Linked DNA regions of Homo sapiens: region 2 is linked to region 1. Evidence: promoter capture Hi-C in 16 types of primary human blood cells and fetal thymus (Javierre and others, 2016). All regions are on one chromosome and are shown on one strand. Each heading gives the region's core, a stretch centred on a gene start or on the middle of the fragment in contact. The rest is flanking DNA. Distances are from core to core; before and after follow the strand shown.

Evidence for each region. Contacts are between HindIII fragments. The CHiCAGO score rates a contact against its expected background, and 5 or more counts as called.
Region 2: a contact is called between a fragment that was not itself captured here and the fragment with the promoter of ZC3H6 in region 1, in 1 of 17 cell types (neutrophils). The highest score is 7.1, in neutrophils.

The regions. Positions count from the first base shown.
Region 1 is chr2:112,274,347-112,280,518 of GRCh38, reverse strand. It overlaps ZC3H6 (zinc finger CCCH-type containing 6), which reads right to left and starts at 4,922. Exons shown (of 12, transcript NM_198581.3): 1 at 4,493-4,922. The coding sequence starts at 4,524. RefSeq lists a silencer at 4,153-4,632 and enhancers at 4,823-5,032, 4,648-5,220. The HindIII fragment of the contact is 12,828 bases long and covers 3,273-6,172 here.
Region 2 is chr2:113,882,824-113,888,995 of GRCh38, reverse strand. All of the region lies in intron 1 of ACTR3-AS1 (ACTR3 antisense RNA 1), which reads left to right. LOC124906071 (a long non-coding RNA gene) reads left to right here. Exons shown (of 3, transcript XR_007087205.1): 1 at 1-933. Among named protein-coding and RNA genes, the nearest start is that of ACTR3, 4.2 kb to the left of the region's middle. RefSeq lists enhancers at 2,225-2,334, 2,345-2,394. The HindIII fragment of the contact is 1,600 bases long and covers 588-2,187 here.

The DNA of each region.
Region 1 (6,172 bases), core at 3,673-6,172:
TGTCAGTGCTTAACACTATACTTAGCAGAGACGAAACACTGTTAAGTCTGAGGAATGAAAATGTAATGAATGAAATTTTATAATGAATGAAATATTTGTTTATGAGAGGTTGGGGGAAAAAAAGAGTCTTCCTGAGAGTCAGAGTGCTTTACAACATCAAACCTGAGACCTGATACGAGGTTTTACATTTGCTAAAGAAAAATTTCCTTTAGTAATTTCAACAATAGTTAAATTAGTGGATTCAGGAATCAGAAGTAAGTTAATGGCTAGTCAGGAAAGTTATTTACTCCACGGAACATACTAATTTACAAACCAGATATTGTGTGGAGCAAAAAGTGTACTCTAATCTGAGAAAAGGCATCTGCAATTTTTTTAATTAAAATTGATTTAAGTGGGAAGGAAAATTGAAAATGATCTAGTGCAACTACTTCATTTCACAAATGAAAAAAATAATGAAAAGGGGAAGAGCATTAACCCAAGTTAGAAGATCAGGATCAGTACCAAGGTTTTATTCAAAATGAAGGGCTCTCTCTCAAATGTAGCACATTACAATTCCAAACTACTCAAGGATTAAAGCCCAGAACTTATTCCATTACTTTGCTGTGCAAACTTAATGAAGAGTGAAGATAATATTGCAAGTAGGAAAATAATATTGCAAGACTGAAAATAATAATACCTGGGTTCTTATCTAGGTTGTATTTATGAGATCTCAGACAATTCACTGAACCTTGTAATGCTACCTTAATTAACTACCACATGGGATTAATGTGAGAATCAAATGAAAGCCCTGTTGCAAATGAAAAGTATAATCATCTTTTCCATCCTCATCCTTTCAGGTTCTCCAGTGCAGTCTCTTAGCAAGTTTTCAATCTATATGGGGGGCCATAAACCACTTGCAATTCTGACTAGTTGGAGTTTTGTTGTTCTTGTAGTACAGGACAGAAAGCTGCGAGGGAAGGGTGGGGAGGTTGTTTATGTATTATAAACCTCCTCCCAAAGGGGAGTATTATCCATATCACCTATCAGTTAAAGACTCTTTGAGACTCACAAGCTCTTAAAAGGTTCATGCTAAAAAATTATCTTTTTCCCCAGTACAAGCCCTACAAAACCTTTTACCATTAGTATATTTCAGAAAATTCTGTAACAATTACTTGGGTTATATTTATCTTTTCCTACTCTACTACAGATGTGTCCAAAGCAGGGACTCATAGTATTTCGTCTTCAGGAGTTGTGAATTGTTTTAATTGGGTCAACATCCAGTTGAAATATAAAACTGAGCGGCTGGAGTCGTGCCTGAGAGAACTGAATGAAAAAGAACTGAACGACGAGAGACCAGAATTATACCTCCCTCTGATTTCCCTAAATCCCTAAAGACCTTTAGAAACTAGGCTCTGGGCTTATGCAAAAGTCCTCTACTACATTCTACATAGCCACAAGTAGAATTAGAAGTATTTTTATATTAATAACATCTTATAAAATACAATGTTTTAACTCCAGGTGTGAAAATATTTAAAGGAAAGTACACTAAATGGATTTTTTTTAAATTATTCATTTGGCAAACAATCTTGTGCAAAATGTTCACTATATAACATGTACAAGGCCAGGCGTGGTGGCTCACGCCTGTAATCCCAACACTCTGGGAGGCTGAAATGGGAGGATGGCTGGAGCCCAGGAGTTCAAGACCAGCCTAGGCATATAGCGAGACTCTATTTCTTTAAACGAGAAAAAAATTATGCATTCTGTGAATTCCATTTACATTTAGAATCTCATTCTCATAAACAGTAATATTTTAATTTGTATAAAATCAAAGCAATTGTAAATATAAATCATAGGCTTCATTTTTTTTCCTGCATACACAATATGCCTTAATTTTTGAAAATGTTATAAAAAGAATATCCTTGGCTGGGCACAGTGGCTCACCCCTGTAATCCCAAAACTTTGGGAGGCCAAGGCTGGTGGATCACTTGAGGTCAGGAGTTCAAGACCAGCCTGTCCAACATGATGAAACGTGGTCTCTACTAAAAATACAAAAAATTAGCCAGGTGTGGTGGCGGGTGCCTGTAATCCCAGCTACTCAGGAGGCTGAGGCAGGAGAATGGTGTGAAGGCGGGAAGTGGAGCTTGCAGTGAGCTGAGACAGTGCCACTGCACTCCAGCCTGGGCGACAGAGCGAGACTCCGTCTCAAAAAAATAAAATAAATAAAATAAAATCCTTGAGACAAAGCCTAGCTCCATATACCAAGTTTCATATATTTTTCTCCACTTAATTCACAGAAACTTTTATAACAGCATAAAATAGCTATTATATGGAAAGATACAGTATTTTGGAAGCCCGCAGATTAGTCCATTTTTTCCCCAAATTTCTTAAGAATTTCCCAGGGAGCCTATGAAAAATACCCTAGAGATTCTGATTCAGTTGCTCTGGGCAGAACAAAAATTTATTCCCCAAAGTGATTCTGATGATTAACTATCATTGGGAAACACTGATCGAGTATAGCGGTTCTCAATTTGGCACATATTAGAATTTCCTGGGGAGCTTTTAGAACTCTTAAAACCCAGGCTGAGGTCCAGACCAACAGAAATAGCGCCAATACTTTAAAGAAAAAAAGTTCCCCAGGGAAGGTTTAGAACCATTGATCTGATCTTGTAGAATTTCTCCTGACTTCTAGTTCACTTTGTTTTTGATGTAGTTGTTTTGTTTTTCATGTGGGTTGACAAAAAAAGCATGAAAAAAAAAAACCATCTCCTTCATCTCAGCACAATGATGCCACTTAACAATTGGCTAAGTTAAAGTGGAGCTAACCTTTTTGTTTCAGAAATCACTAGAAAATACTTTTAGTCCGAATTTTAAATAAAATAGACTAATCTTAATCTTTAGCTCCTACTACCAACCTATTAACATATCTTACAAATAATTCTTTAAAGTTTTCTAACCTCTAAACCAGTATTTTAAAATTTCAAATTCTTTAAAAGGTCTGTCATCACAGTTCCTTACCAGCAAAATTATTTTGATACTTGAATTTGATGGCATTGTTTTTTCATGATGTACAATACATAACTCCATATATAGAAGTTACTTTGTGCACTAAGAGAGGGGAACAGATATTCTTCCATATTAAAAAAAAAAAGGATTTTAGGCTCCATTAGCAAAACCCCATCATTGGTTTGTCCATACCTCAAGAGCAAGGTATTAGTCAACCCATTCTAAGAATTTCCTTTTTAATACAAAAGATAACGTTAAAAAAATCATTAAAAATGTGCCAAGTGCAAGCTTATCATTTTTAAAAGTGCATTTTACTTTCCAAAAATTTTTACACTTTGATTGACGTGCCCTCTGGGAATCTACTTTTATTATTACAATACTGAAGTTGTTGAAATACCATTTTTATCCCTCTCAAGATTGCTAGGTATTTAGATATTTCAAATTTCAGCAGTGTTTGTGATTTTTGCTTCTGGGTTTTAAAAAACGTGTTTAGGATGCTTTACCAAGCCGATCACATTACTACAGATAAAACTTCAGCAATGTATATAGTCTATAGTAAAACGTATATTTTTTCTTACTTCTATTCACAAAGGAGTAATTGTGAGGTTCTAGATTTTCAAATTAATATTCTAAGTAAGAATCAGATGCAATGGATTTTGTTTCAGTAAGTTTAATGAATGAAAGCCCCCCTTTCGCATTATTAAAGATATATACGAATGAAAATTTGAATTATAACCAAAATTTAAGTATGCTACAGTATACTTTGTAAATGTCCCCAAACTCGAATGGAAACAAGAATGTGCCTCTTAAGGCACAGAGCAAAAAATAAAAAATCAGAATCTCAATATTCAAGTGATACACACCATCTAGAAAATTGGGCTAGCCGGAATAATCCATGGAGTTTTTACGTTAGGGTAAAACTGTGCTAAACTAAGTTTCTGCAAAGCCTAAGTATTTTGTGTTAACATATTAAACTTGAAACTTGCCATCTCAAATTCCAAGGGATAAGACTGTATACAACAGATGGCCTTTTGGTGCTGCTTAAAACTTCCCTGAAAACCAAATGTTTATTTTTTTAGAGGTGTTCTCGGTTCTCGGGAAGCAGTCAAATATCAAAACACCCATTCCTGAAAATTCCTGGCTGGTCCTATCTGGCCGGGAGCACCGACACCTGGACGGGCAGAAGCAGGACCTCAGCACCGAGCCGGGACGCTGAGAGCCGCCCGGCGCACACGGAGCCCGCCCGGGGGGCGGGGGGCTCGCACGTGCCCGGCCGGGGGCGGGGCCGGCGCTGGCGAGCAGCGACCCCGGCTCGGGGAGGCGGGCGCGGCCGGGCCGACCTCCCCCGCGGCCGCGATCCAGCAGTTTACATAAGAGTGCGCGTCATGGAACTGACGGAGCCACACAGAGACGTCTAGGTCATGCAGGAGGCGCCCGGCCCCGGCCCGCTCCCGCCGCCCCAGACCCCTCCTCTCATCCGACAGAAAGACAGACAAGAAGGGTTCCCGACCTGTCGTGCCCTGCATGTTCAGAGTCTGTCATGTTTGGTCAAGAACGGGGCGGGGCTGGAGGGCAGGTCTGCGAGGCCGGCGGCGGCGGGGCGCGGGGAAGACCCCCCGCGCCGCCTGCGGGAACCTGCTCCCGGCCGCCGCCGACAGGTGACGAAGTGGTAAAAACTCACGGTTACTAGTGAGCGACACAGACACAGACTTTCCAGTCTATTAACAACCACGCCAGAGAGATGGGGCTCTAACTGCAAACACTGGGCAACGGCCCCGCGCTGCCGGCGCTGCCGCTCTAGTCTCTATTCGCCGCCGGTGGCTGTGGCGTGGGAGCGGGCGGGCGGCGTGCAGCGACGCGGGGATTTGGACAGTGGCCGTAACGGTGATTTCTCCTCACCAACATGGCGGCACCCGAAACAGGCGGCTCGAGAAAATGGCGCCGGCCGCAACACCTTGCCCGGGACTAAAGGGCAAGAGAGATTCCTCCGCGAGCCGCGGCCCTTGCCCAGCCCGCCGGGGCCGAGCGCGTTGACCATTGGAGGAGAGTGCCCGTCAATCACCTGCAGGGGCGGGTCTTCGCCCTTCTCTGTGCAGCGGCGGAGGCGGCAGCCTAGTGGCGGGGCCGGGCGGCGAGAGACGCGGCCGGATGGCTCCTCGAGTGTCTGCAGGAGGGGGAGGCAGCCCACGGGACCTACGAGGGCCACCAGCGCTTCTGCTCCCGGCGCAGTACGGGCCGCGGTTTTTCCTGCGAGACGCCCGCCGCCCGAGGAGTTCCAGACGCACCAAGCAAACGGGCCCCAAAACCGTTAGCCGAGGCGGGCAGGGGTGGGATAACAAAGAACAAGGCGGCTGTAGAGTCCTTAAATTTTTTTGTGAAAACCTTTGTTCTTGTAATAATAGGGAAATGCAGTTTCTCCTTCACAGTTGTAGCAAGTATCTGTTTTTGTAACGTTTAGTGTTCAGAATCATGTTTTAAGGAAAATAGCTTGCCATGCAGTTTTTTCTTGTATTTGCTGTTAAATTTACCCAATTATTACTTAAATAGGAATAGCTATTGAAATAATTATATAAACGTTACTTTATTTCGTAATAATATTAACATGTAAAATGTATGCGAGTATTTTATAAATACTATTAGGCATGCCTTTTTTTTTTTTTTTTTTTTTTTTTTTTTTTTTTTTTTCTGAGATGGAGTCTCCTCTGTCGCCCAGGCTGGAGTGCAGTGTCGCGCTCTCGGCTCACTGCAACCTCTGCCTCCTGGGTTCAAGCAATTTTCCTGCCTCAGCCTCCCGAGTAGCTGGGACTGCAGGCACGCGCCACCACGCCTGGCTAATTTTTGTATTTTTAGTAGAGATGGGGTTTCCCCATTTTGGCCAGGCTGGTCTCGAACTCCTGACTTCAGGTGATCCGCCCTCCTGGGTCTCCCAAAGTGCTGGGGTTACAGCCGTGAGCCACCGCGCCCGACCATGCATGAGTTTTTTATACTTATGAAGTGACCTTAAAAAATTTTTAAATGACAAGTCAGTGTTTTGGCCTATTTAATATATTAGTCCTGAAGGAAAGTTCCTTGCTTTTTACTAAAATGATAGACTCAATGATTAATCCAAATATCTGACTTAATTTGTCTTTCCTTAATAATACATTTTACTAATACATAAATGGAATGCATTCAAAAACAATTGCAATGA
Region 2 (6,172 bases), core at 138-2,637, 1.6 Mb before region 1:
TGGGCCATACCCCCAGAATTCTCTGACTGGGCTATCGGAAATAATGCCTGAGAATGTGCATATCTAATAAGTTCCTAGTTCCACTTTAGGACCCTAGAAGGTTAGTATCTTTCCTCTCTACCAGGCTTATCTTAGGATGAACCGTTCGGGGTTTGCTGATGTGAAGCTAAAACAAAAATATTCTTTAAAAGGAGGGATGTCTTATTCAGTCCATAAGATCATCTAATGTATTAAGCTGGCTTGGGGGATGAATCGGGTGTTTCATTCATTCATTTGACAGGTAAGCATTGCTTACCTACTCTATTATGACGGGGTCTGTGCTGACTCCGAATATTCGGTGGGATGCAAAATAGTTAAGTGCTCTTGTAGAGTTTACAGATTAGCGGAAAACAGACAAATTGTGTTAAGAGCAATAGAAAGAAGAGAGCGGAGGACTCTGAGAAATGAAGGCGAGGAGTGGGAGAATGAGAGGAAGGTGGAAGGCAGGTAAGGAGTCTGACCAGCTGGTATTTAAAAGCTAAGATGGGGGGAAGAGTCTCCCAGGAGAGTGAACAGCAAGTGTCAAGGACCTGAGGCAGGAACAAGCTTGGCTTCTTCCACAAATTGAAAGAAGATCCATATGAAAGAGTCAGAGAAGATGCAATGGGAGATGAAGACTGAGAGATAAGGAAGAGTGAAACAGTGCAAGAATTTGTAGACTGCTCTAAGCATTTTAAAGTTTATCTTAAAAGCAGCTTGATAAATTAGATTTATGGTAATTAGTTTAAAAATAAAAATAAAGCAACTTGAAAGGATTTAGGCAAGAAAAAGTTGTGTCTGCTTTGTAGAGAATGGCTCCAGCAGAGTCCAGATTGAATCATACATTGTATGATATTCTGTGTTCCGGAGTTCGCAGATAGAAGTATGTGAGGGCCAGCATCCAAATGGAATCAGGTATGTGCAGAGGAGACTCACTAAAGGGCATCATCATCAATTAGTGCCCAGCATGTCTGCAGCTATTCACGAGAGAAGGCTTTTTTTAGAGGTTGTTTTCAGAGAAGTCAAACAACTGGTTGTCTCAGATTCGTTGTCGTTGGTTTCTCCACTACATTTTAGAAGATGCTAGATGGGGACTCTTTGCTGCCGCTTCTACTACCTGGTAATTAAAGTCTTTTGAGGAAGCATATGCTTGAAGATTGGCTCTGACAGAAAAGACAGATGTGGTTTAGTAGGGGTAGAATAAATGGTTGTTTCCAGCAGTTACAAGTAGTAAGTCAGGAGTGAAGAGATCCTACCAAAGAAGTTTCGAGAGCAGAGGTTAGTGCCCTCGGTCACTTGGGCAGCCCATGCCGGTGGCCCTCAAGGTAGCTGCCCACACTCTGGCCTTGCACAGTTGTCATGGAAGTAGTTAACTCAAGCAGGGTTGGAAACTAGTGCTTCGAGGTCTAGGCAGGTACTGTTATGAGTGAAGGGGGCCATGAGGAGGGTATGGCAATGTGAGAGCCCACAACCCAACAGAAGGCAACAGACAACTGTTGCCATGTGGAAATACAGCCCTGGTATTGCCAGAGCCTTTTTTCTTCCCCAAGAGAAATCTGAAATCTGCATTTTTATCTTTGGTAACTGTAATGGTTTGAATGTGTTCCCCAAAGTTCATGTGTGAGAAATATAATTTCCAGTGCAACAGTGCTGAGAGGTGGGAGCTTTAAGAGGTGATTAGGCCAGGAGGACACTGTCTTCATGAATGAATCACAGGACTGGGTGCCTGATAAAAAGGAGTTTGCCCCCGCTTCCCTCTCTCTCTTTTGCCCATGTGATGCCTTCCACCATGTTTTGACACAGCAGGGACGCCTTCACGAGATGATGGCCCTTTGATCTTGGACTTCCCAGCCTCTAAAACTATGAAAAATAATTTGTGTTCTCTATAAAGTACCCAGTCTCTGATATTCTGTAAGCAGCACAAACTAGGCTAAGATAGTAACTAATTTTTTTCTGCATGTCATATCTGACCTGTGGTCTGCCAGTTTGCATCTTTTGATTTCGGAAGCTACATGTGGTTCAGTAGTTTGCTGCCTTCAAATATGAAGCTCATGTCAGTGCTAAGTACTGTCTCTCATTTCATAGGCATGAGGAAACTGTCACAGTCTCACATAGTCAAGACTGTCCTGTGTTTGTACAGGCAGTAACTGTTAGAAGCATTTGGAAGCTTTCAGTGCTTGTTGGAAATGTCATTGGTGCTCATTCCTCATAATCTTGTCTACCCAAACACTTTGCTTGCTTAAGATCCCTTCTACTTCCTGCTTGCTGCATGCCAAATTGGTCAGCCTCTCTGCTACTGTGGTGGCCCAGCCTTCCTCAGCTGCACATAGCCTTCAGTCACACATCCGGCCAAAGCATTTCTGACCACCCTGTTTGCATATGCACCCACTCCCTGCTTACTCATCTCCAAACACAGAAGCAAAGGATGTCAGAGACAGTTCATCCTTCATTTCATATTTGTCCCTAATAGCACCTCAATTTCCTTTCAGTTCAGGTCAACCCGGTCCTTGGTTCTTACCCATTTCCAAACCTGTTCCGAAACTTTCAAGCATTTGTGAGTCTTGCAGTATCCTTCTCCTGTGGCTCAAGTTAGCCACAGCAAGTTCCCATTACTTGCATCAAATTTGAGAAGCCTTAGTGGTACAGAAGCCCATAGAGTTTAAGTGAGTTTTCCCAATATCTTTTTCTTTTTTTTTTTGAGATGGAATCTTGCTCTGTCGCCCAGGCTGGAGTGCAGTGTAGTGCGATCTCGGCTCACTGCAAGCTCTGCCTCCTGGGTTCATGCCATTCTCCTACCTCAGCCTCCTGAGTAGCTGGGACTACAGGCGCCCGCCACCATACCCGGCTAATTTTTTTTTTTTTTTTTTGTATTTTTTGTAGAGACGGGGTTTCACTGTGTTAGCCAGGATGGTCTCAATCTCCTGACCTCGTGATCTGCCCGCCTCGGCCTCCCAAAGTGCTGGGATTACAGGTGTGAGCCACCACTCCCGGCCCCCAATATGTTAAAGAAACTAAGGAACAGAAGTCCAAGTCAAAATCCAGTTCTTACGCCTTTTGGGGGGCTCTTTAATTGTAACGACAAATTAGCAAATTGTCTTTGGATCTTAAAAAGTGTCCAGGAAATTTATGTCACTCAATTTCCATTATTTTAAGATGAGAAATAGTATTTTAAAAATCAACTTAGGTACGTACTACAGGGCTGACTGTTTGCAAATTGGCAGATGAATCAGATTCACAGAGAGCCTTAATTCAGAGCAGGTAAGTTGTAAAAGTACCCCAAGCAGCCTAGTGGTCAGAGGGGAGGGACTGTGAAAACTGTCTTCTCTCTTCTCAAGTTGTGTGATCTTAGCAACTAACTTCTTATGTAGAGAGAGCACTGATTTTAGACTCAAGAGACTTGAATTGAGTATGAACTCTTTCACTTACTCTGTTTCTTCATCTATAAAATTCACAGGAATATTTAACCTATAGGGTTGTTGTAAAGCTTGAATTTGGTAAGAAGCCTATTATAAATTACAGAGTGACCTTATTATGGACAGATCAAGAGGAATATGGTTTAATTATAAAGTAATCACTGACTTAGTACTTAAACATACAAAAGGAAACACACACTGGTCCTCCTCTTCACAGATGTTATCTTGGGGCCCATGTGCCTACTCTTTTAATGCTACCATTGTGCAAAATATTTTTAGAAGCTCTTCTTTAGACTTGCCTTCAAAGCCTACAGCACATTGTTTTAAACATCTTCACTGGTGGCAGATCTTGCCCTCTGTGAGTAGATTTCATTTTGAGGATTAGCCAAAAGTCATTTCTTCAGAGCCAAGTCCAGTAAACAAATGGCTTATCAACTAGGGTTGTTTTTTATCAAAAGTTTTATGTGACTATAAGTAAAACTGGTTTTCTTATGTGACTTATAAACTGCCTCTAGATGAAGTTCTAGATTATTTTATTCAGTGGCTACATCCCTGGGGGCTATAGACTGAATGTCTATGTTCGCTCACTCTCCAACCAATTTGTGTGTTGAAAATTTAACCCCCAGGGTGATGGTATTAGGAAGTGGGGCCTTTGGAAAGTGATTAGGTCATGAGGGCAGACCCCCACATGAATGGGATTAGTTCTCTTTTAAAAGAGACCTCAAAAAACTGCCTCACCCTTTCCACCATGTGAGGACACAAGAAGACAGCCATCTATCAAATGGAAAGCAGCCCTTCACCAAAGGTGGATCTGCTCACATCTTGATCTTGGACTTCTCAGCTTGCAGAACTATGAGAAATAAATTTATATTGTGTTTGATTGTTTGTTTTTTGAGGTGGAGTCTCACTTGTCCCCCAGGCTGGAGTGCAGTGGCTCAATCTTGGCTCACTGCAACCTCTGCCTTCCGGGTTCAAGCAATTCTCCTGCCTCAGCCTCCCGAGTAGCTGGGACAACAGGCGCATGCCACGAAGCCCTGCTAATTTTTGTATTTTTGGTAGAGACAAGGTTTCACCATGTTGACCAGGCTGGTCTCAAACTCCTGAGCTCAAGTGATGTGCCTGCCTCGGCCTCCCAAAGTGCTGGGATTACAAGCGTGAGCCACCACACCCGGCCAAATTTCTATTTTTTACAAAGCCTAAATTTGTGTTGTTTATAAATAAATTGTTTATGGATAAGGGATTGAATATCCCTTATCTAAAATGCTTAGGACTACAGATATTTAAGATTTTGGATTTTTTCAGATTTGGGAGTATGCACATATACAAAATGAAACATCTTGGGGATGAGACCCATGGGTAAACACAAAATTCATTTATATTTCATATATGCCTTATATGCATAGCCTGAAGGTAATTTTATACAATATTTTTAATTTGTGCATGAAACAAAGTTTGTATTTACGTGTATTTACATGTAGAATTTTCCATTTGTGGTGTCATGTCAGTGTTCAGAAGGTTTCAGATTTTGGAACGTTTTGGATTTTGGATTTTCAGATTAGGGATGCTCCACTAGGGATGCTTTGTTATAGCAGCCTGAAGAAGCCAAGATGCTGGGATAAAAATAGTCATTATATGCTTGATTTCATTGAAAATATATTTCTTTTTTCGTTTTTTTTTTTGAGACAGAGTCTTGCCCTGTCGCCCAGGCTGGAGTGCAGTGGCGTTTTCTCGGCTCACTGCAAGCTCCACCTCCTGGATTCAAGCGATTCTCCTGCCTCAGCCTCTCAAGTAGCTGGGATTATAGACGTGTACCACCACACCCGGCTAATTTTTGTATTTTTAGTAGAGATGGGGTTTCACCATGTTGGCCAGGATGGTCTTGAACTCCTGACCTCAAATGATCCACCCGCCTCGGCTTCCCAAAGTGCTGAGATTACAGGCGTGAGCCACCGCACCCGGCCTGAAAATATATCTCAGATAATATCTGTACAACATTTGAAATGAGGTGAGATTCTGTGGGATAAGATCCTAATCCCCTCACTGCCTGTAAAGAATGAATAGTTTAATTAAATTTTGACTCTAATTTAAAGAAAAGTTACGCCCTGTCTGCCCCCACCCCGCCCCCCCAAACACACACACACACACTTGCGCAAACATATACACCTTTTCTTATATATAAAAACAGATTCTAGATGGATGACAAATCTCCAGTATACAATAAAATCCATACTCCTTATTGGGACCTACAAAGCCCTCCATGTTCTGGTGCCCACCTCAGTGTTCAGCTTGTCTCATCTTCACCCTGTTCCATGAAGCCACATTAACCTTCTTGTTGCTGTTCACACCCACCAGGCTGTTCCCACCTGTGTCCACTCCCCGGACTTCTCCACCAGTCATCAATTAATCCTGAATCACTTGCCTCCTCAGAGAAGCCTTTCCTGACCTGCCAGTGTAAAGTAGCCTGTCTCACTGTCTTCCCCCGTCACCAAGTATTAATTATCTGGGGGAAATGTCTTATTTACTTATTGGTTTGTTTGTTTCTTATCAACTAGGGTTGTCTCTCCCAGTTAGAAAATACTCTCACCAGAGTTTGAAGAGAGCCTGACGTATAATAAGTGCTCAATAAATATCTGTTGAGAGAATAAATGAATCAAATAACAAAAATAAAACTATAAATTATAAGAAATTAGAAGGGAATTTAGAAAAAAATGTTTATATACTCTGAAGGTGGGGAGGACTTT